7 separate regions of the Homo sapiens genome follow, and all the other regions are linked to region 4. The links are contacts of gene promoters, found by promoter capture Hi-C in blood cells and fetal thymus (Javierre and others, 2016). All regions are on one chromosome and are shown on one strand. Each heading gives the region's core, a stretch centred on a gene start or on the middle of the fragment in contact. The rest is flanking DNA. Distances are from core to core; before and after follow the strand shown.

What was found. The method cuts DNA at HindIII sites, captures the fragments that hold promoters and counts their contacts. A CHiCAGO score of 5 or more calls a contact.
Region 1: a fragment that was not itself captured here is called in contact with the fragment with the promoter of BCL6 in region 4 in 1 of 17 cell types (endothelial precursors); the score reaches 5.4 in endothelial precursors.
Region 2: a fragment that was not itself captured here is called in contact with the fragment with the promoter of BCL6 in region 4 in 5 of 17 cell types (naive CD4 T cells, naive B cells, total CD4 T cells and 2 more); the score reaches 6.4 in naive CD4 T cells.
Region 3: a fragment that was not itself captured here is called in contact with the fragment with the promoter of BCL6 in region 4 in 7 of 17 cell types (M1 macrophages, M0 macrophages, M2 macrophages and 4 more); the score reaches 25.3 in M1 macrophages.
Region 5: a fragment that was not itself captured here is called in contact with the fragment with the promoter of BCL6 in region 4 in 2 of 17 cell types (M1 macrophages and erythroblasts); the score reaches 5.6 in M1 macrophages.
Region 6: a contact is called between a fragment that was not itself captured here and the fragment with the promoter of BCL6 in region 4, in 1 of 17 cell types (M2 macrophages). The highest score is 5.4, in M2 macrophages.
Region 7: a contact is called between a fragment that was not itself captured here and the fragment with the promoter of BCL6 in region 4, in 1 of 17 cell types (M1 macrophages). The highest score is 5.3, in M1 macrophages.

The regions. Positions count from the first base shown.
Region 1 is chr3:188,529,205-188,532,285 of GRCh38, reverse strand. All of the region lies in intron 6 of LPP (LIM domain containing preferred translocation partner in lipoma), which reads right to left. Among named protein-coding and RNA genes, the nearest start is that of LPP-AS1, 38 kb to the left of the region's middle. The HindIII fragment of the contact is 955 bases long and covers 796-1,750 here.
Region 2 is chr3:188,726,138-188,728,837 of GRCh38, reverse strand. All of the region lies in intron 8 of LPP (LIM domain containing preferred translocation partner in lipoma), which reads right to left. Among named protein-coding and RNA genes, the nearest start is that of MIR28, 39 kb to the right of the region's middle. The HindIII fragment of the contact is 2,041 bases long and covers 315-2,355 here.
Region 3 is chr3:188,504,804-188,507,539 of GRCh38, reverse strand. All of the region lies in intron 5 of LPP (LIM domain containing preferred translocation partner in lipoma), which reads right to left. Among named protein-coding and RNA genes, the nearest start is that of LPP-AS1, 62 kb to the left of the region's middle. The HindIII fragment of the contact is 2,246 bases long and covers 184-2,429 here.
Region 4 is chr3:187,744,140-187,747,073 of GRCh38, reverse strand. It overlaps BCL6 (BCL6 transcription repressor), which reads left to right and starts at 1,606. Exons shown (of 10, transcript NM_001706.5): 1 at 1,606-1,664. It overlaps BCL6-AS1 (BCL6 antisense RNA 1), which reads right to left. Exons shown (of 2, transcript NR_173091.1): 2 at 1,048-1,830. RefSeq lists an enhancer at 1,968-2,493. The HindIII fragment of the contact is 3,720 bases long and covers 714-2,934 here.
Region 5 is chr3:188,673,608-188,676,346 of GRCh38, reverse strand. The region is part of intron 7 of LPP (LIM domain containing preferred translocation partner in lipoma); the gene reads right to left. Among named protein-coding and RNA genes, the nearest start is that of MIR28, 14 kb to the left of the region's middle. The HindIII fragment of the contact is 1,331 bases long and covers 787-2,117 here.
Region 6 is chr3:188,655,111-188,658,167 of GRCh38, reverse strand. All of the region lies in intron 7 of LPP (LIM domain containing preferred translocation partner in lipoma), which reads right to left. Among named protein-coding and RNA genes, the nearest start is that of MIR28, 32 kb to the left of the region's middle. The HindIII fragment of the contact is 364 bases long and covers 1,250-1,613 here.
Region 7 is chr3:188,696,718-188,699,597 of GRCh38, reverse strand. The region is part of intron 7 of LPP (LIM domain containing preferred translocation partner in lipoma); the gene reads right to left. Among named protein-coding and RNA genes, the nearest start is that of MIR28, 9.4 kb to the right of the region's middle. The HindIII fragment of the contact is 2,080 bases long and covers 512-2,591 here.

The DNA.
Region 1 (3,081 bases), core at 24-2,523, 790 kb before region 4:
CCCCAGCTAAGTTTTGTTTGTTTGTTTGTTTGTTTGTTTTTAGTAGAGCTGGGGTTTCGCCATGTTTACCAGGCTGGTCTCAAACTCCTGACCTCAAGCAATCAACCTGCCTCAGCCTCCCAAAGTGCTGGGATTCCAGGTGTGAGATACCATGCCTGGACAGAACACTTTACTTCTGGCACTAAATGTGAGGGTTTTTTTCATACATCAACTGATTCTATGGTATCAGATGGGTGTTTTATGACTCAATTCAGTTCTGACACAATCTACCTGGAGTTACTATTACAGATCCCACAGGTTAAGGGTTCAAGTCCCACAAGACTGTTTCCACTTCATATGTCAATCACAAGCTGCGGTGGTGGGGCAGAGTAGGGGTGGTCACCAGTTACCCAGACTTCTGTCTGATTTGACTACAAATTGGGGTTTGCCATTATCCCCTTCCCAAGTTTGATAATATGCTAGAATTACTCATGAAACTCAGGGAAATGCTTACTTACATTTACTAGTTTATTATAGAGGATACGATAAAGGATAAAGATGGACAGGCAGATGATGAAGTGCACAGGGCTAGATCCAAAAGGGTCCTGGGTATAGGAGCTTCTGTTACCATAGAGTTGGGGTATGCCACCCTCCTGGCATAAAGATGTGCTTAACAACCTGAAACCTCTCTGCACTTCAGGGATTTTTATACAGACTTCAAAACATTCAAAACATAGGCATGATTTGTTATTCATTCAATCTCTAGCCCCTTTCTCATCCCCAGAGGATGAGAGGTGAAGATTAAACTTCCAAGCTTCAAATCATTGCTTGGTCATTCTGGTAACCAGCCAAAATCCAGGAGCCCACCAAGAGTTGCCTCATCAAAACAATAGATATTTCCATCACTCAGGAAATTCCACAGAATTCAGTAGCTCTGAGTCAGGAACCAAGGTCAATAACAAAATAATGTTAGAACAAAAGATGCTACCAGCACCCCTATCACCTAGGAAATTATAAGGATTTACAAACACTGATTCAGAAACTGGAGTAGAAAAATATATTTATATATTATTTCTTATTATTTCACAGTATCACACTAGTCTAAATGAGGATAGTGAAAGCCCATTTAATCAATTCAAAAGCAACTTGATTCACAAATTACTAAATCTCCAGCTACCATGAAATATTAACGTAAGACAGTTTATTTGAAAAGTGTTCCAAGTCACTCAGTCATCAGCTCCAATCCTACCAAACTTACTTGGGGAAAAAAAGACAGCCCTGTACTAGAAACTAGAAGATGAATACTGTACCCTAACTCTGATAAAAGAAGGAACACAAAAGTCATTAGTTCATGATTGATCTCTTGTCTTCTAAGAAATAGACAGAATTTCGTTCCAACCCCTGCATAGCTTCTAGAGGCTAAGCTGTACTTATACTAACAAATCATGCCTACCTAATGGGTTGGGTTTAGATATATACTAGCTTAAAGATGTTACAACGTCATAAGTTTTCTGTTTACCATTGAAGTACGTCTTTGATATGCCTAATTCTTTGTTATGTGTTTGAGACTTATTTTAAAGAAGACGCCATAAAAGAAAGACTTTTTGGAATAAACCAATTGTGATACTAAAGGAAACCAAACTCTCCCCTGGTCGTGGTTATCATCAAGCTGGGCCTTTGTGTCATAGTTCGGGGAAAATACAAAGAATCACTGAAACTGTCTCTAAATGAGCCTCCTTGAGTGTGTTCTTTCCCTCTCTGGGCAAAAGCTTTCCATCTGTAGAATAAGAGTTTGGCTAAGTGAGCTGGAAGGCCCACTAAAGCTCTGATATTCTATGATCACATTTTGTCTGCAATTCACTCCAGGATCACCTCTGAACTTTTCACATCTGTTCTTCTAAAACTACTCCCTGACAAACACATTTAAAATGTTTAGAAATTTTGGTTTCAAACACTAATGTAATTTAATTGCATAAATCCATGCAGCGTCATGGAGGATTTTTTTATAAAGTAGCTGTAAGCTAAAGTCATTACTCCAAAATCACTGCAGCCAGTAACACTGTTGCTATCCCCCTGTAAATTTCTCTTTCTAACAATGAAAGCCCTTGGGCATCAAAAGGGCTACTTAGGTACTGCTAAGTAAGTTTGAGTTTTTCAGCAGTAATCCCATTTACACTTTACATACCCCATTAGACAAACTTATTCTTCAAATAATATTCACTTTCCACGTTCCTTGACTTTCTCACTCTTGTTATTCTTGCACCTTGAATCCCATGCCCTTCCCGTAACACTTTAAGCCAAGTTAGCTCAAATACTGCCTGCTCTACGCAGTCCTCTCTGACACTGAAAGGTATAAGGTACAATGTTGGTATTCCTGTATTTTATCTCCCAATAATTTTGACACGTGGTGATTTACGTGACAATTTAAGTAGCACATTGAAGCCCTTCTCCTGTGTCCCTTTGGGTTACTTACGGGCTTATCTCTTCTGTAAGATTAAATATCACTCTAAAGGAAAGACCTGTTGATACTAACCTTTAAATCTCCAATGACTGATCCAGAGGAGGATCTCATCAAATGTTAGGTGAATGAATCAATGAATCAATGAATATGTGGAATTAAGCCAAATTTCCAAAATCAATATAGGGATTAGTAAGTGAACATAACTAAAGTCAGAAAATTTGGGAGCGGAAAATACTCCCTAGAATAAAAGGAAGAAAATGCTTTAGCAAAACCTATTTTCAAGAGCTCACATTTTTCAGACTTGTTTTGAGAATGGAGCTCCTTGGAACCTCTTACCATATAAACATTCCACATATATATCATTTTTCCTAGACCATGAGTCAAAGCAGCCTTCCAAAGATGATAGAGACATGGATTCAAAAAAGCTTACAACACATGTTTGACTAATGAGAAATCACAGACCTACTAGCCTATTTTAAGTAGTCAGGTGATTCTATAGGTTTTGAAATTTGCTTTGAACAAAAATAGAAACATCAATGTTGGGCATTAACGGTCTACATTTCTAGGACTTTTCAAGTACCTTTCAATTATAACACAACACCGTCTACTATAGACATCATCTTCTCTTGGCACATACTTTT
Region 2 (2,700 bases), core at 86-2,585, 980 kb before region 4:
AGACAGAGATGGACATATCATAGGCTCTGCATAAATATTTACTTAAACCAAATAACCTTATAATCTACTGTGTCATTAGTAGACATACCAACTCACTAGAGAAGGGAGATCACATAAAATCTGGAAGATAATTTGCTTGCTGGGTTTCACCATCTCTGTTATTTGTTCAGTTATCAAAGGAACAGAAATTGAAAACAGACACAAAAAAGCTATGCAACCCACAAATCTACTATGAAAATGTGTATTCCATATTGATGAGCTGTTTCTTAACTAAACGAAGTGAATAGGTATAGATCTGCATAATATAATAAGCTTATTATCTCTTGGTCAACTGGTTTGTTGTAGGATCCCAGGCAAATTAATCACTCTCTTCTTTTGTATTACTCCAGAACCATCAAATAACATAGTGCATTCTACAAAGGCAGTTTTAAGGAATAAACAAGAAAATCACTTAACATTATAAGTCAAAAGACGCAGGTTCTTTTGCAGATAGTTATAAGTGACATTTTAAAAATCTTTAGAAAGTGATTGTCACTCTTCATTCTGTTTTCATGTTTGTGATGTAAGATTGGACTAGATCAGTAATTGTCAACTTTTTTTGTTATCTCATCACACGTGGGGTATGGCACACTCCATCAGCTAAATTTTCTCCGAGTAATAATATTTTCTCAGTGGATCTAGGGTTATGTCAGTAGATCAGAGTTTCATTGTAAATACAAGGTAGATGTGTGTGGGTGTGTAGTTTTGAATGTGATAAAGCTCCCCCAGGTGATTCTGAGTCTTTATGCTGAGAACCAAGAAACTCCTCAGGTTTCCTCCAGCCTTAACAATCTATGATCTTATAATTCTATGAATGAGTATTAGGAATGACACAGAAAGGATAGCAGTGTAAAATGCAGACTGGTTGCAGAATATAGTAGCTAGTTGAGAAAAGCATCCTCATTAAAAATAGGTATTTGCTGAGCAAAAAGAACAGAGACTTGGCTTATGAAGATCTAGGCTCTTGATATCCGTATAACCTTGGACAAGGTACTGAACTGCCTAAGACTCAATTTTCTCATCTGAAAAATCCGGATATGAATGCTTACCTGTTGTGAGCATTAAGTAAGACCAGCTATGTGAAGTGTTCAGCATGCTGCTTGGCACATGGTCAATGCTCAATAAGTGGCTGTCAACAATTATGAGGCCCATTTGTGTTAGACATACATATATGAATAAGTGTCCCTGTCTTTCAAGGTTAGGGTTCTATTTCTGGTGTAGAATTTTACATAACTCTTCTCTAGACTGGATTGTCTAGAACTTCTATGAATGAAATAAATATCAAAGTTATTTTAATATATTTTATAATTATTCAGTGACCCAAGAAAAGTATTTAATATTTCAACATCTTAACTGGAAATCATCTTAACTAAAACACAGAATATCTTACCCGTGGTCATCACCAGAAATTGGTCTGAAGTTTATGTTCAAATACACAAAACCTAAGTAGCCTGTATCATAACGTTTCAATACTCTCAGTACTGCTGAACATTAACTGTGTGTCAGCCCACATCTGTAAGTAATTTGCATGTATTATTAACTTATTTAATCCTCCAAAACCCCCTATCACAGACACTTTTATAATCATCCCTACCTTGCAAATGAGCAAACTGTTGCAAAGAGAAGCAAAACTTGCTCAAGGTTACTGTGGCAAAGTGGAAATTCAGACCCAAGCTACTTTGGGCTTTTCTGGGATGGTGATAAGGGTAAGATCCTTAGACATGAAGTTAGAGCACCTAAATTGTAGACCTACCTGTGTGTCCTTGAATAACTGACTTCCTTGCTCGGCTGAAGGTTTTTCTGCCTAAACTAAGAGATTTGGATTAAATCTAAGGTCCCATTCTGTGACTTTCTAATTCAAACTACACAGCATTTTGAATGATAAGAATTTGTGTCTGAGAAAGCTCCCTTTTTTGATATTTACTTTTTTTAGCTGCTGTTTTCTTTTGTTTTTCCTGGCATGTGTTATGTTGGCAACACAAACTATTATGCCTACATCTATGTGCTTGTAAATGTTTATGTTGCTATTGCTGTTTATTTGCCTTGTTTACGAGAAATAATAATTCATCAAACAAACAAAAAATGGAAAAGAAACAAAATTAGGCAGACCAGATTTCACCCATAATAGAGACCTCACAATTATAGCGGTCACACTATTCACCATAATACTTCCACTCCAATACCACTGTATCACTCACTATCCCTTTCTCCTGCATAATTTTCTCAATAGGATATACTGCTATCTGACCTGCTATGTATTTTATTTATGTGTCATCATTTTCTTCTCACTGGAATGTAAGCCCCATAAAAGAAGCTTTTCATCTGCTGTAGCACCAATGCTTAGAACAGTGTGTACACACAGCAAGTGCTCAATAAGTATTGATAAAGAGAGGATCTCTGTGGACTGATGGCATCACCATTACTGAACTCCTTCTCTTTTTCTCACATCACTTAGTGATGTCATTACCCACCCAAGATAGAGGCCCAGGAATAAGTCTCAGCCCATCCCTCTTACGCCCCTTTGAAACCCTTCTCTAAATTGTCACAAGATGACTATCTTGGTTCCAGCCCTTATTCCCCTTAGACAAGTACAAATGACACCCAGACTGATCTTCATCCCCCAAATCTTGTCCCATTGAACACCTCTCCCCACAATAGTAC
Region 3 (2,736 bases), core at 57-2,556, 760 kb before region 4:
CATCAAGAGAAAAACGGGAAACTTATGTGATTTCACTGAGTAACTATTTTCACTACAAAAAAAAAAAATTCCCATATTTATTTTTTCCCCCTTTCGAAATGGCACTAAGGAAACACATGCCAGACTGCCATGAACAGAGGCTGTACTTTCCAAACAGTAGCAAGGACTAAAAATAGAAAAGCTTGATTTGCTCAAGATGTATATAACTTCCTCTCCCATTTCCTCTCCCCACCACCCTGAGTCAGTATACAGAAGCAGTGCACAATGAACCCTTTGCATGCTTACAACAACCCCAAAAGCATCAAAAGGGTGATAAGTATACAGACTTCATAGTCCTTTCCCAGAGAATTCCTATTGCACAGTCGAAGAAAGAATAGATCAATCAAGCCACAAATATCAATCAAGTAGCTATTCTATCTTCTCGCAATAAAATAAAGGTTATGGGCCGGGCGTGGTGGCTCATGCCTGTAATCCCAGCACTTTGGGAGGCCGAGGTAGGTGGACCACGAGGCCAGGAGATCAAGACCATCCTGACTAACACAGTGAAACCCCGTCTCTACTAAAAATACAAAAAATTAGCCAGGTGTGGTGGTGGGCGCCTGTAGTCCCAGCTACTTGGGAGGCTGAGGCAGGAGAATGGCGTGAACCCGGGAGGCGGAGCTTGCAGTGAGCCGAGATTGCGCCACTGCACTCCAGCCTGGGCAACAGAGCAAGACTCCATCTCAAAAAAAATAAAATGAAATGAAAATAAAGGTTATGGGTGATACAGAAATATGGGTTGTGATCCTGCCTTCAGGCAATTGCTAAAATAAATGAACAAGAAGGTAATGGAAAGAGCAGAGGCCTGGGAGTCCAGAAATCTCTAGTTGTGGTTAGGACCAGCTCTCCTAGTAACTGTGTCACCATGAACAGTTCACTTAAGAAATTTAGGCTCCAGTTTCCTCATCACAAGAAAGGGCAGAGGGGTTAGGACCATGTCAAATCTGGTGCTCTACGATTTGTGATTTTAAATAATTTCTACAAGTCTCCCATGTTATTTTATGATTCTGGCTTATAAAATAAAGTTTGGTGGCAAGATTAATGTACATGCAATGATTACATTACCCCACAAAAGGGTATATATTAAGTGGCAGAAAAAATCAAACAGCATTAATAAATCTATTTATTAACTGACTCATAGTAGCCTTTACTCTGAACCAGCAGTTGTTGGATACTCTACATTATCTTAATTAGTCCTCAAAATAACCTTCTAAAAATTGTTATTAATATCCTCATTTTTGCATGTAAAGATGGGAAATGCAGTGATAAGCAACAGAGCAGGGTTTCTTAGCCCTAAACCCTGGGCTCATGCCACCACATCACATGACTCAATCAAAAGACTGAGGATGCAGAGAAGAGAGAGATCAAGATGATCCAGTTGTCAGACACGTATGAGTAAAATAGTAGAGTTAGGCTTCTAAAAATGAGGATATGAGGGTTCATCAGGTATTGAGAAAGACACAAGAAAAATTGGCTTGGCATATGAAGCTGACAATGACGATATGAGCTTCAAAAGAGCAAGGACTGTATAAAAAGGACAGTGGGAGATACAGTGTGCTACATAGGATGAGGTAGGTCATAGAGTACTCTGAAAAATAAACCAAGAGGAGAAATTTAATGTGGAAAAGCCAAAGGAAGAAAATAATATTTTTTAAACCACTAAGTGGTTACAGATATGCAGTTGGAATGTGAAAAAGATAGAATGAAGGCAATGAGTAGGTTGTAACCCAGAAGATATGAACTAGGATGATGGGCAAGAAAATAAAGAGATTGAAATAATCCTGTAAGCCTTGGTGATAGATATACAAAGAAAGCAAGATATATCATCAATGAACACGATTTAGTTGGCAAGACTAGAAAATATAATGGTATGTCTAACAGAATGTAAGCCTTTGAGTAAGATGATGAGTAGAATTAGGGATACATTGAAAGTGAAAAGGCAGGTGTTATCTATGAAAAGATCTCATGGATAAATGAAACAAAACTTGTCAAAGGAAAACACAGTACCAAGTCACAAGCAGTTCAAATAATTAGATAAAGAAAGATCAAAGTTGATCTTATTAGAGTAGTGACATCTACTGAGAGAAAACGGAAGGTCAAAGTGAGAACTCTGAGTGGGAACCTAAATTTAGAGACAGGGAGAAAGGAGGAGGGGGTGGTAAAGAAGGGAGAAAAGGAATAGTTGCAGGCATGGCAGAGGAATTAAGGAAGTTAGTTCTGCTTAGTAAAAATCGAAGGAAGTGAAAGGGATTCTGAGAATATGGCAAAGCAGGAGGCACCACAAATCTGTCTTTCCACCTAGACAACGATTGCACTGCCACCATCTATATCAACAACTTATTTTGGAAGTCCAGAGTCTATTAAAGGAGTCTACTTTCTGGAGGGAAGCTTTAGATGGTAAGTTGTGGTTAATTTAGGTAAAGTTTACATCTCAGCACAATAGCAACTACCTATACCCCACCTCTTAGATCCTTGGCAGGCATCTGTGCACATGTACTTGAAGCAGCTTGCATACAGCTTACATGATCCAAGCTGGGCAAAAAGGACCTGTCTTCCATATATCAAGGATCTGTGGACTGAACATTAATTGCTGCTTTTAATCACACACATAAAGAAAAAGGGGCAACTATCATTAGTGTTGCCCCTCTCACTCCAGCTGAAGTGACTTCCATGGGACTCAAAAGGCCAGTCCTTTTT
Region 4 (2,934 bases), core at 357-2,856:
TAGGAGGGGAAAAAACCCGAACCAACATTTAAATAAGGAAACTAGCAGCTCTGAACAAACAAACTAGGACCCACAATGAAATGATTCTGCACTGCAATTGCCTTTAAAAAGAAAGTAATAGAGAAAAAGAGAAGGAAAGAATTTCTCCTTCTTCTCTACCCCCCCCCCACCCCACCCCCCAACTCAGCTTCAAAGCTAAGAAGACTGTGCTGCGTGTAGTGCATTGTAGTTGTGGCAGTCTGTTCTAAATACAGGCAGTATCTGTGATACTGGCACGGCAGGCCTTTAGAATTCCCTCCGGCTGATCTCTTAAACACAGACTGAAGAGATTTTTTTACAACGACCTTGAAACGAGCCTCGAAAACAAAAATCTCAAGACCTTAAGAGAAAACAAAACACAAACAGGTATTTGGCTCACAGAATTTTGTAGAAAACACACACATACCACCCCGCCACCCCCACCCTCCCCCCCACACACACGTTTCTTGCAACAAGAAATTTCCCAAGAGTCAACAATAACAGATTAAACCCACCACTTGCTGTCCTGGAAAGAAACAAACCAAACCAAAACAAATCCTTTGAACATTTCTCTGAAGTGCAGGAGAGACACACTTCAGCAAAAGTCCAAGGGGGAAAAAGAAAATTGCACCAAAGGAAAAAAAAAAAAAAAAAGTGGGGGCTGGGATTGTTACATATGGCCAAAAATTTAAGCTTCTTTCAATAGTATTAGTATTGAAATAATACATCTTTAAAACGCTTGAGGGATTAGATAGGGAAAGAAAAGGCACGTACAAAAAAATCCAACCGATGCCGATCCTGTGATTTACGTAACACCACAAACTTGCAAAAGGCAAAAAATCAGAAGCAAAAATCCATAAACCATCAAAATACAGAAACCAAAAATCCCAAGCCACCACACCAGAAAGAAAAAAACCCAGAACAACAGCAAAAACCCCTGTCCTAAATAAAAATAAAGCAAATGAACCCACCGAAAACTGCTTGGCAAATATTTTTCTCGTGGTGCCTAATATTCTAGTTGGAAAGAGCTGTGATGTTTATTTTATTTTATTTTTCTCTTACTCGCCTCTCTAACCCTACTATATATATAACATACTTTTCCCAGTGGTTCAAACCTCTCGCTCCCTTTTGTGCATTTAGCTCGATCTGCTGAGTTTATGGGTAAGAAAGAAGGAATTAGCCCCAGACCCCGGGAAAGCAAAGCGCACTCCCCCTCTTATGTCACCGAATAGCAAATTAGTTCTCAGAATTCCAGAGGCCGAGCTTTGCTACAGCGAAGGCGCCGACGTCACAGAGGAGGAGCCCACGTGATGGTGGCGGAGCAGGCCATACCATCGTCTTGGGCCCGGGGAGGGAGAGCCACCTTCAGGCCCCTCGAGCCTCGAACCGGAACCTCCAAATCCGAGACGCTCTGCTTATGAGGACCTCGAAATATGCCGGCCAGTGAAAAAATCTTGTGGCTTTGAGGGCTTTTGGTTGGCCAGGGGCAGTAAAAATCTCGGAGAGCTGACACCAAGTCCTCCCCTGCCACGTAGCAGTGGTAAAGTCCGAAGCTCAAATTCCGAGAATTGAGCTCTGTTGATTCTTAGAACTGGGGTTCTTAGAAGTGGTGATGCAAGAAGTTTCTAGGAAAGGCCGGACACCAGGTGATTATTGCTGTTGCTGCCGCCGCTGCTGCTGCTACTGCCGCCGCCGCCGCTGTTGCCGCTGGTGCCGCTGCCGCCGCCGCTGCTCATGATCATTATTTTACCTTTTAATTCTTTTTTTTTCCGCTCTTGCCAAATGCTTTGGCTCCAAGTTTTCTATGTGTATCTATTGATATAAATGTATATATTTATTTATTCTAGCTGTCAGGTGTTAAAATAAATGCCGAAGATTAGTCCCACGTCTCTCCCACCATAGGATATAGATTGTTATGTATTTATTATTATTATTGTTGTCTTTGAGTGAATCGGCCGGTTTGGGGAGGCTTTTGCCACCCTCCCTTGTGTTGTTTTGGTTTTTGGAAAGGAGGTGGAGGAGAGGAAGGAGGGGAATTAGGGGGCGGCCGGAGCAGAGAGGACGAGACAGTGCTTGGGGGGTGATTCGGGCTAGTCTGGGGGCTGTCTGGCCCCAGACCGCGGAGAGGACGCGCGCTCGCGCTCTCGCTCTTTCTGCTGCTGCTTGCGTACGGCTTGTGATCTCTCTGGATTCGTGCGGCTGTGTTTTTTCCCTCTTTTCTCGCTTGCAAACTGCTTTCCTTGCTCCGTCGCTCCTGGCCTCCGCTTCCCTCCCTCCTCTTTTTCCTCGCCTCTTCTTCCTTCCCTTCCCCTGTCCTTCTGGGTAACTCCGGGAGGCAAAAAGGGAGGCTGCCCGCTCGCTCGCCCCGCTGGCTCTCTTCCATCGGCCTCGGTCTTTTAGATTCCCTGCCTTCGAGCCGAACCGAGATTTGGAAGGAAAAAATGCAAGCGAACTCTTTGGGTTTTTGTTTTTGTTTTTTTGGTCATAAATCCAGATGAGATGAAGTATCGTGTCTACTATTTCCTTTCAGAGCCGTGATCTTCCTAATGAGAGCCGAGTGTTTTGGTGTTCCCTGCCCCTGTGTTTTGGGGAGCTTGGGGGCGGGGATGTTGAACACTTTGAAAATTATTCTTTCTTGGTTGTAGTCGAGGGAGTCGGGAACCTCCGCGCGCTCTCCCTGCTCATCCCGAGGAGAGAGACTGATGGCGGGACAGGGCTTCTTGGGGTGGGTGGGAAAGGGGTGCGCACTGCACCTGCGATGCCTTTCAGTGTGCGGGGGGACTCAGGGAACCTCGACAGGACAGCCTGGGAGAACGAGAAAGGTGGCGGGATTTCTGGCCGCTGCGGTGTTTGTATTTTGGGCGCTGCGTGACTCTGTGTTGGCTCCCAATGGCTGTTGCCTCCCTTTCCTAAATT
Region 5 (2,739 bases), core at 203-2,702, 930 kb before region 4:
ACTATTGAAAACACTTAATTGACAGCTTGTACCCGCTGGCTGCCCTTTATTTACATCTATGTAGCTTCACCTGAATACAATGTAGCTGTTTCAGTATTTTAGTGTATCTCCCCACTATGTGCAAGGCAGGATTTTGTCTAGATTATTCCATGAATACACAAATCTAATCTTCAAGAATTCGATTCCACCAGAATACGGTGGTGACTGCTACCTATTTTTTTTAAAAACGTTTTCACTTTTCTAATATTTTTCCCTTAAAAATCTTTTTATCTATTACAGACCAAAGCCAATTCTCATTTAGAGACTAGTAATCTTTCATTTCCAGTATAGTAATCTTTCACCCCTAGGATTCTTTCTCTTAAATCAAAAAGAGGATTCCAATCACCAAAACTTAAAACAGAATTCCAATGTAAGAGAGAGGATTGCAGCAGTCGGGGCAGTACAAGAAAACACTAAAAATTAGGAACTCTGAAGACATGATTCCTGGGTGCTTTCTATAACAAAGTCAGGCTTCAACATTTCTGAGGAAAAAGAACATACCTTTTCTGATACATATTAAAATGGTTAATATATGCCTATGTAATGCAAATGAGCAATCAGAGCTCACTAAGAACTTTAGAATTATTAAATGTTGGAGTTGAAATAGAACTTTTTATTCATCCAGTTCAATCCCTGTAATTCCAGAAGGACATTTGGGGCCTGAACGGTTACATGACTTGTCTAAGGCTATAAAGCCACTCGACAGTAGAAATAGAACTAGAACAATGATATACTGGCTTCTAAGCTTAGCACAGATTACTACCAACACCCCTTGATGTGTTGTCCTTCATATACAAACATACATCATCCAGAAGGCATATACTTGAAGCTATTTCTCTAATTTGCTAGGAGCTATTCACAGTCTTAGCCCCACCATTCTTTATTTACTTCTTTGCTTTGTGTGTATGCGTGGTTTGTTTGTTTGGTCTACTTGTTGAGCAGTTAAGGAAGCCAACTAATGAAAAATGAAGATCCAGGCTAGCTGTCCAGATTTTGCCATACCTCAGGGCTTGCCGCAACCCACTTCATTCTGTCTGTGAGAACTTCCCAGTATACCCTAGCCCACACTGGCTTGACACACTGCTTCATCTCTACAAATGACTCTAATCAGTACCACAAGTCTGAACAGCTGTTATGTAATCGTTCAATTCCTCCATCTTTTCATTTACCTTCCAGCAGGGCTGGTCCTCTTCTTTTGTATTATACTCATAACTAAGGCTAATGCTGTGGGAGAAATTTCTTCAAAAAATTTCTGAATTACTCCTATGCCCTCGTAATCACAATTATTCCAAACAGGGCAGGATTAGAATGGCACCTAAAAAGTAATATTGCCAAGGACTTATGCAACACAATAGTAATATTCATTCACACACTTCTAGTTGCTAAAGCAGCATGCATGTCCTGTGATAATAAACTTTGAAGTAATAAATATGTCACAGCCTCGGAAGGTTCCAACACTTGATCTTCTGGATGGTCTTTCTATGAGGTGGAAAAAGCATAGACTTTGAAGTCAGAGATGCCTAGGTTCAAAGTTTAGCTTTGCACACCTACTCTCGTACAAGGTATTTAATATCTCTGGGCTCCAGATTCCACATTGCAAAATGAGATGGTAAACCTTATCTAGCAGGGTTATTATGAAGATTAAATGAGAAAATGTAAAGAAGAAACCCAGCCCAATGTTTGTTGAAAAGTAGGTACTTACATAATCGTTTTCCTTTGTTACCTTTACTAAAATCATGAGATTATGTGAATTCAGCTAGAGCTTCGGTGCAGCAGTGTTAACAAAACCAATTGAGGTTCCCAAATTAAACATTTCCTTATGTAAGTTACATTGTGGTATGCTAAAAGATTTAAAGGCGTGACTCTATACCCAAGGCAGATTGGAGAAGGAAGGAAAGCTAAGACATTCCTGTGATGAGTAAAAAGAGAAGAGAGAAAGAAGAGGAATTAGGCACAAAATGGTAAAAAATTTACTTTTCGTGTTTACAAAAACAAAGTTGGGAAACATAGAGTTGAAGAGCAGGAGAAGGAAAAATTGTCAGGGAAGTCAAAGGTAGGAGCTTTTGAGATATAAAGCTTCCATCTATGTTCTTTTTTAAATTGTTGCAACCCTAGTATCCCAGAGTGTACTGTGTGAAAACTTAACCAAGTATAACTAGTTCAGAATGTGGCCACTCAATAGGCAGAAGGGCTTTTAGGCAAATTCAGCAAAAAGCCAAGGGCTCAGCAGTATATTCCAGAAAGGTATTGTGTTTGTTATGACATGCCCAACAACAGTAAGTGCTTATAATGGGTTTGGAATGTTCTTCCCTACACTACAAAGGAGTAAGATGCAAATGACCCAGGGGGTATATTTCATCAGTCATCTCCTAGAGAGACAGAATCTTATGCAATCTTCTTTGAAAAAAAAAAAAACAAAAAAGAAAAAAATTACAGAGACAGAAAGAAAGGGACTCTACCCTTCCTTAAGAGACTGAGTATTGGTACTGCTCATATTCCAATTTTTCTCTTTTCAGTTACTCCAATAAGTCCCGCCTCTCCTTCCTCCAGTTTGGCTGGACAAGCTAAGTTTTCACATCATGCACTCAAAATGGGGAAGGAGAAACTTGTCCATTTTCTCTATGTCTGGAGGAGCAGGAAGAGCCACAGTATCCAGAATCATAGCTTCAGGGAGAGGAAGAATGGTCACGATCTACTGGC
Region 6 (3,057 bases), core at 182-2,681, 910 kb before region 4:
TGTCGTTAAAACTAAACTAAACTAAACTAACCTAAACTAAACTAATAACTTCAGAAATATGGAACACTTCTTCAAATGTTTCAAAAACAAAACACTGGTTACTCATTCGTTGTCACTGTCACTGTGTTGATTGATAAACAAATATGTCAAGTAATCCCAACACAGTCACAAAGTTCTAAGGTTAATAGGAATATTAAGATGACACATATCTGAGCTGCACCATTATGTATTTTTATGTGTCACTTTTCAGTTTACAGTATCTACTCTAACAATGTTATAAGAGAGGACCAACGCTGTAAGAGTACTATGAGCATGCATATTTACAAATGGAAGAATCTGTAAGAGTATTATCATAGAAGTGGTGTTTTTGAGCTTAGCCAACTTATATATATTTTTAAAGGTATTCTCTATAGAGAAACAATTGTATTAAAAGCAGAGGGATGAATGTAACGGGTTAGTGTGCTTGGGGACTAGCTCTTTGTTTAGGTTGGACAAACTATGGATATCATGAAGAAATATGGGGTAAAAAGACTAGAAAGGCTAAGAAAAAAAGGCCCATAGATATCAGGCTCTGGAGTACAGACCTAATCCCATAGCCATGGGAAGCTGTTCAAAGATAAACTCACGAGTAGCAAACTGACAAAACCAAAATAAAAAGAGCATATCAAATACGCAGAATCCACTGGTAATGCTAAATTTATACCAGCCTGTGATCAATGATTTATAATGTCGAGGAAAGCCAAGTATAGCAAATAACATAAGGGCAAAAATTTTGAAATTAAAGTTGTAATGACACTCACAGAATTCTTTGCCTTTTTTATACATTTTTTATCCATATCAAAGTGAAACAACTGTAGTAAATGTACTATACTATCTGCTTTTGGAAATATATATATATATATATATATACACCTTGACAGCTCTTGAAAACTTATACATCACTACAGTATTACAAAGAATGTGCATGCTCGAGGGGAAAGAGGAAAAAAATAATTGAATTCAGATATAGTCTCCTTAGACAACTTAAAACCCCTAAACAATTCAGCAATTAATAAAATACCTAAAGACCAGCAAAATGTTCCATGGAAATGGGCCAATGTGGACTCTATTTGGAAAGCCCTGTGAGAAAGTAGGGATCAAATATTATCTTCAAAGGAGGTAACAGAATATCCTTTTCAAGAGCTACTGAATGAGTGGTTAGCTAGAAGTGGTATCATGTAGTAGGAAGAACAAGGGATATTGGAAAGCTTGAATTCTCACTTCATAATTTACTAGTCCTGTGACTGTGAGCTGGTCCCTTCTCTAATCCTGTTTCCTCATCTCTTTCACAGAGCTATTGGGCAGCCCTCAGTGGCATGCTGTGCAATGCCAATGTTAGGTATTACTCACTATTATTCCTTCAAGCCAGAAGGCTTCAGAGAACCTGCATTTCAAATGGAGGAAATGAGTGTGATGTGCTTACAATCACAAATCCAGTCAGTGGGAAAGTCATGTTAAGAGCAAGAACTCCCAAATCCCTCCAGATTTAACCACCAGGAAATGGGTCACCTGTCAGTAGTACAAGAAGGACACTGTCTGATGTGATTTGCTACAATTTGGCAAAAACAGAAGCTTAGCCACAAGGCCTTGGCAGGTGAGCAGAAAGGTTGTTGCTGGTTTTTTCCAACACTTTGTTTTTAAATGTAATTGTTTGTTTGCTTTTTTTGAGTCTACACAATCTGTTCTTTGATTTGGGATCTCAAACAGTTTGCGATTGCTTCACGGCTTTGAAGATCAACTTTAAGAAATGAAACCAACTTGCTGTCACAGGCTGTGAGCTTGAAGGCAGCCAATATTTGCAGACATAGCATGTGGAAGGAGGCAGTCAGGTTTGTCTTCAGAACCCTTCCTCTGAGGCCTGGCAGCACCTGGGAGCGCCTGGGCACAGACCTTCTTTCTAAAATCAAAGTGTTTTTTTTTTTTTTTTTTCCTTTTGGAGACTGAGTTTCGCTATTGTTGCCCAGGCTGGAGTGGAATGGCGTGACCTCGGCTCACTGCAACCTCCACCTCCTGGGTTCAAGCAATTCTCCTGTCTCAGCCTCCTGAGTAGCTGGGATTACAGGCATGCACCACCATGCCTGGCTATTTTTTTTGTATTATTAGTAGAGACGGGGTTTCACCGTGTTGGTCAGGCTGGTCTCAAACTCCTGACCTCAGGTAATCCACCCACCTTGGCCTCCCAAAGTGCTGGGATTACAGTTGTGAGCCACCGCAACTGGCCCAAAGTGTTTTTTTAATGTGAGATTAGCACCGCTTGCACCTTGTATAAGGAAGCACTGAAGTCACTGGTAAGAGCTGCATATGGTAGGTTTTGACTGAAAAGTTCAAAATGGTATCAGGATTATTTAATTTAAATAAACTTGTGTATAGACCAATTCTCTCTATTCTATAGTAGATTTCTAGTAGATATCCTCCTTGATCCTTGGAGAAGAACTCATTGAACTTCTGAAATTTAAGAAAACTTAAGGTTGGAAACAACCTTCATGGTGATCTATTCAACCCAGAGATCTGCTTCAGTTGGTGACTAAATCCCCAGTGTAATGTTCCAGCATCCCCAGGGGTGATAATCACACTATCTTCAAAATAAAATCGTCATTGAGATAATCCATGCTTCTTCCATGCATCTTCTACCCAGCATCGTTATATTGTGATATTGATTAAGCAATCTCCCTAATTCTGTCTGCCAATTTTCTCTTAATCCTTTTCTAAAACCCGCCTTATGCTGTGTGTCTTCCTTGAAGTGAACAGGATAATTCTACTTTTTTTTCTGATGTCCTTTCCCTCATCTTGACCCTGATACCACTTCCTGATCAAACTCTGGCACTTTTTAACGTGCTGCTAGAAATGGAAACTTCCCTTCTGGGCACTTTTTTATTTTCTAGTTAATGGAAGAACAGGGGCCTATTTTACATGCATATCAATGTTCAAGTGACTAGAACATGGAAGCAGATCAGTTAAGGCTAAAGGAAGAGAGAATATCCTGCCCTGTATTGCAAAACAAAACATGAGCCTAAAGAA
Region 7 (2,880 bases), core at 302-2,801, 950 kb before region 4:
AAGACCCAGAAATTTTGACTTTAAAAGTTTGATTCTTGCTTTGAAACTCATCCCAGTTGATCTTCAACTTTCGAAATCTTGATTTTCTTAAAATCTCTACTTCCTCATATTCCCTTTCTCATGCCATGCATCGATGCCCATAAAATGCCTTTTCTTAAACCAAATTTGGAGTCATAGCCAAGGATGGATGATTCTGAATTACAGACAGGAGGAGTTGTTGGAAGAGTTACTGCAGCTGGGAAAAGGCCTGGGCATCCAGTCAGGGGGCCCTGGTCTCTGCACACAAGGGTTTTATCTAGGCTGAGCTGGGGGAAAGTGAGGTCTCTCCACACCCACCTCTCTCCGTCTCCACGTGTCAAGGCAGCTATAATAGTGCCTGGGCTTGGAGCATCTGGCTCTTAGGCCTGATGTCTAAGATACTACTTAAGTTCTCCAGTGATTTCTTTTTCTATTGTTGATTTTCTCATATATAAACTGGAGAATAATAATATCTGATTCATATGAAGAAGCTTTGTAACATATTAAATATCAAATAGATGTCAGTTATAATTATCAAGAGGGACAACTTAGAAACCACTAACAAAGATGATTTTCTTCTTGGAAGCAGAATGTTTGCAGAATGAGATCTCTCCAGTAACTCTCCACTTTTCCATCTGCTGATAAAGGACTTCAGTGTAGTGTACCCGAATTTCACATTAATTGTTGCTTTAGCAAGGGATGTAATTACTCTGAGTACTTTTTAGCTACAAATCTTGAAATTCATGCCATTTGGTGAACGTATGCCTTGCTGCCTCTCCAACTATTAATTCTTGTACAGTCTCGCCTTTAGGACCAAAAGACAAATAGTAAAGTAAAGCTCATGCTTGGCTATTTAGAGCAGAGCAGCCTCCCTTAGGCTTCGGCAGACAAGGTACAACCACTGATGTTATCCTGCCGGGTAGGCAAGAAGTAAGAAAAGCGAGTCGCAGAGCAGAAGCGCCAAATCCTCAGAGTCGAGGAGAATCTAGGTCAAAGATCTCCTGCCAACCTTATTCACAGTTCTCATTTCAGGGTTCCTTCCCTCTAAACCTCCATGCGGGCCCTCCGTAAAGGAGAAAGCGAGTTTTCTCGGTGGGGTGAGAAGATCTCTATTTGTGTGAAACTAAAAGAACCTATTTCCACAATGTTATGGCTAAAACATACACTCAGTTTTTCCCATTAATTAGGCTTTATGGATGTTATATATTAGAGATTTGACATAATAAAGGCAAGAGAATTCCAAGACATTATTTCCATTGGATGGCTTCACCTAGGCAAGACCCATGACCTAAAAGTTTGATGAATAGAATGAACCATTATTCAAGGTTGGGTTTTCAAACTAAAACCATATTTTGGCCTTTGCTGTGCCCCACATGCCTGGCAGTGACTCCAGGCACACGTTTCATCTTCATTTGGTTGCCTGGAAGAATGCAATGGGCTAGTTGCTCTAATGTCGGGAAAAAAAGGTTTTATCACCATGCACAGCTTTCTATGCATTGTCCCATAGAAAAACTATCCTCAATTACAAGCTACAGTTTTAATAAAGCACTATCAAAAAGACGGCACAGAGTTTCGGTTGCCACGGCTCCAGCCCTGACTGGTTCTAATTTCCTGTCTGCTCAAAATAAGATTTTATTAATCTGTTATTTTAGATACTTGGATTGTCATAATTCTTGCCATTATAGTGCCAAAAAATAAGAAGATATGAAAATAGTACATCTGATAATTACAAATGTATAAAAATATATATGCAAAAGGGCCAGTATATGTTAGCCTATGTAAGTATTATCAAACAGCTACTAGAAGTGAATATATCCAAATGTTAACAAGACTTATGTCAGGATTGTGATATTATGATTAATTTGAGTTTTTCTCTTTATAATTTTAAAATTATCTAAACAGAATATTATAAAAATGGATAGCTCTTAGAAAATAACAGGAAACATACTTTATAAAACATGGGGTTCCAGACTTTTCTTTAGTATTTTCAGGTATGAACCTAGGAGAGATTGGAGAGCCCAAAGTGTGGACAAGTTGCTGATAAAAATAAGGCACCTAGATTTTCAGTCTGATATGCATAAAAACACTTTCCTACTGTACAAGCTGTTTCTGTCTAGTGGGCTTGACAGATGCCTGAACGTGACACAAGACACTGAAATAACATGCAAATCAGTTTTCGGTTTTAATATGCAAATATGACGCTTGGCACATCACTTTCCATGGCGAGGTAAATTTCTGTTTTTGAGTTTTTCGTGGGAAATGCAAACCAGCAAACAAATGGTTAACTCCCCATCTTTCACCTAACACAAGGTGGTTTTCATTTGAGTCAGAGCGGTTCTGGCTCAGCAATCCAAGACACTTAGGATGCAAAGAAAGGGCATGTGTTTTGTTCAATAACAATGCCACCCTAGGCAAGCAATCCTACCTTCTGACAGACACACCGATCACACTGAATTTTTGGGCCTCAGCAGGGAGGCAGACAAAGTGCCTAAGTGAAAATAACAAGAACATGTTTTTTTGCTTGACCAGTGAAAATCAAATCAAAGTATCTCAACATGGTAAGAAGATAAGCTTATAGCCAAAGAAGAGAAAAAAGTCAAGGGTCCTTGTTTCTAGAGTACACGAGCAGTGTAGCAAACTATAGCCTCCTATGAAATCTATATTAAATTATCCACAAATAATAGTAATTAATTAGGCATTAAAGCAGTCATCAAAATGAGTGAGATGCAACCAGTTCATAGAATTTATAATCCAGTCAGGAAATCAAGGTATATGAAGGAGAAATAAAAGAACAAAGCAAAAAATTGAACGTTGATAGTAATCAGTATGCCTTAGATATATAGGTTCTAGGGTCTGCTTACT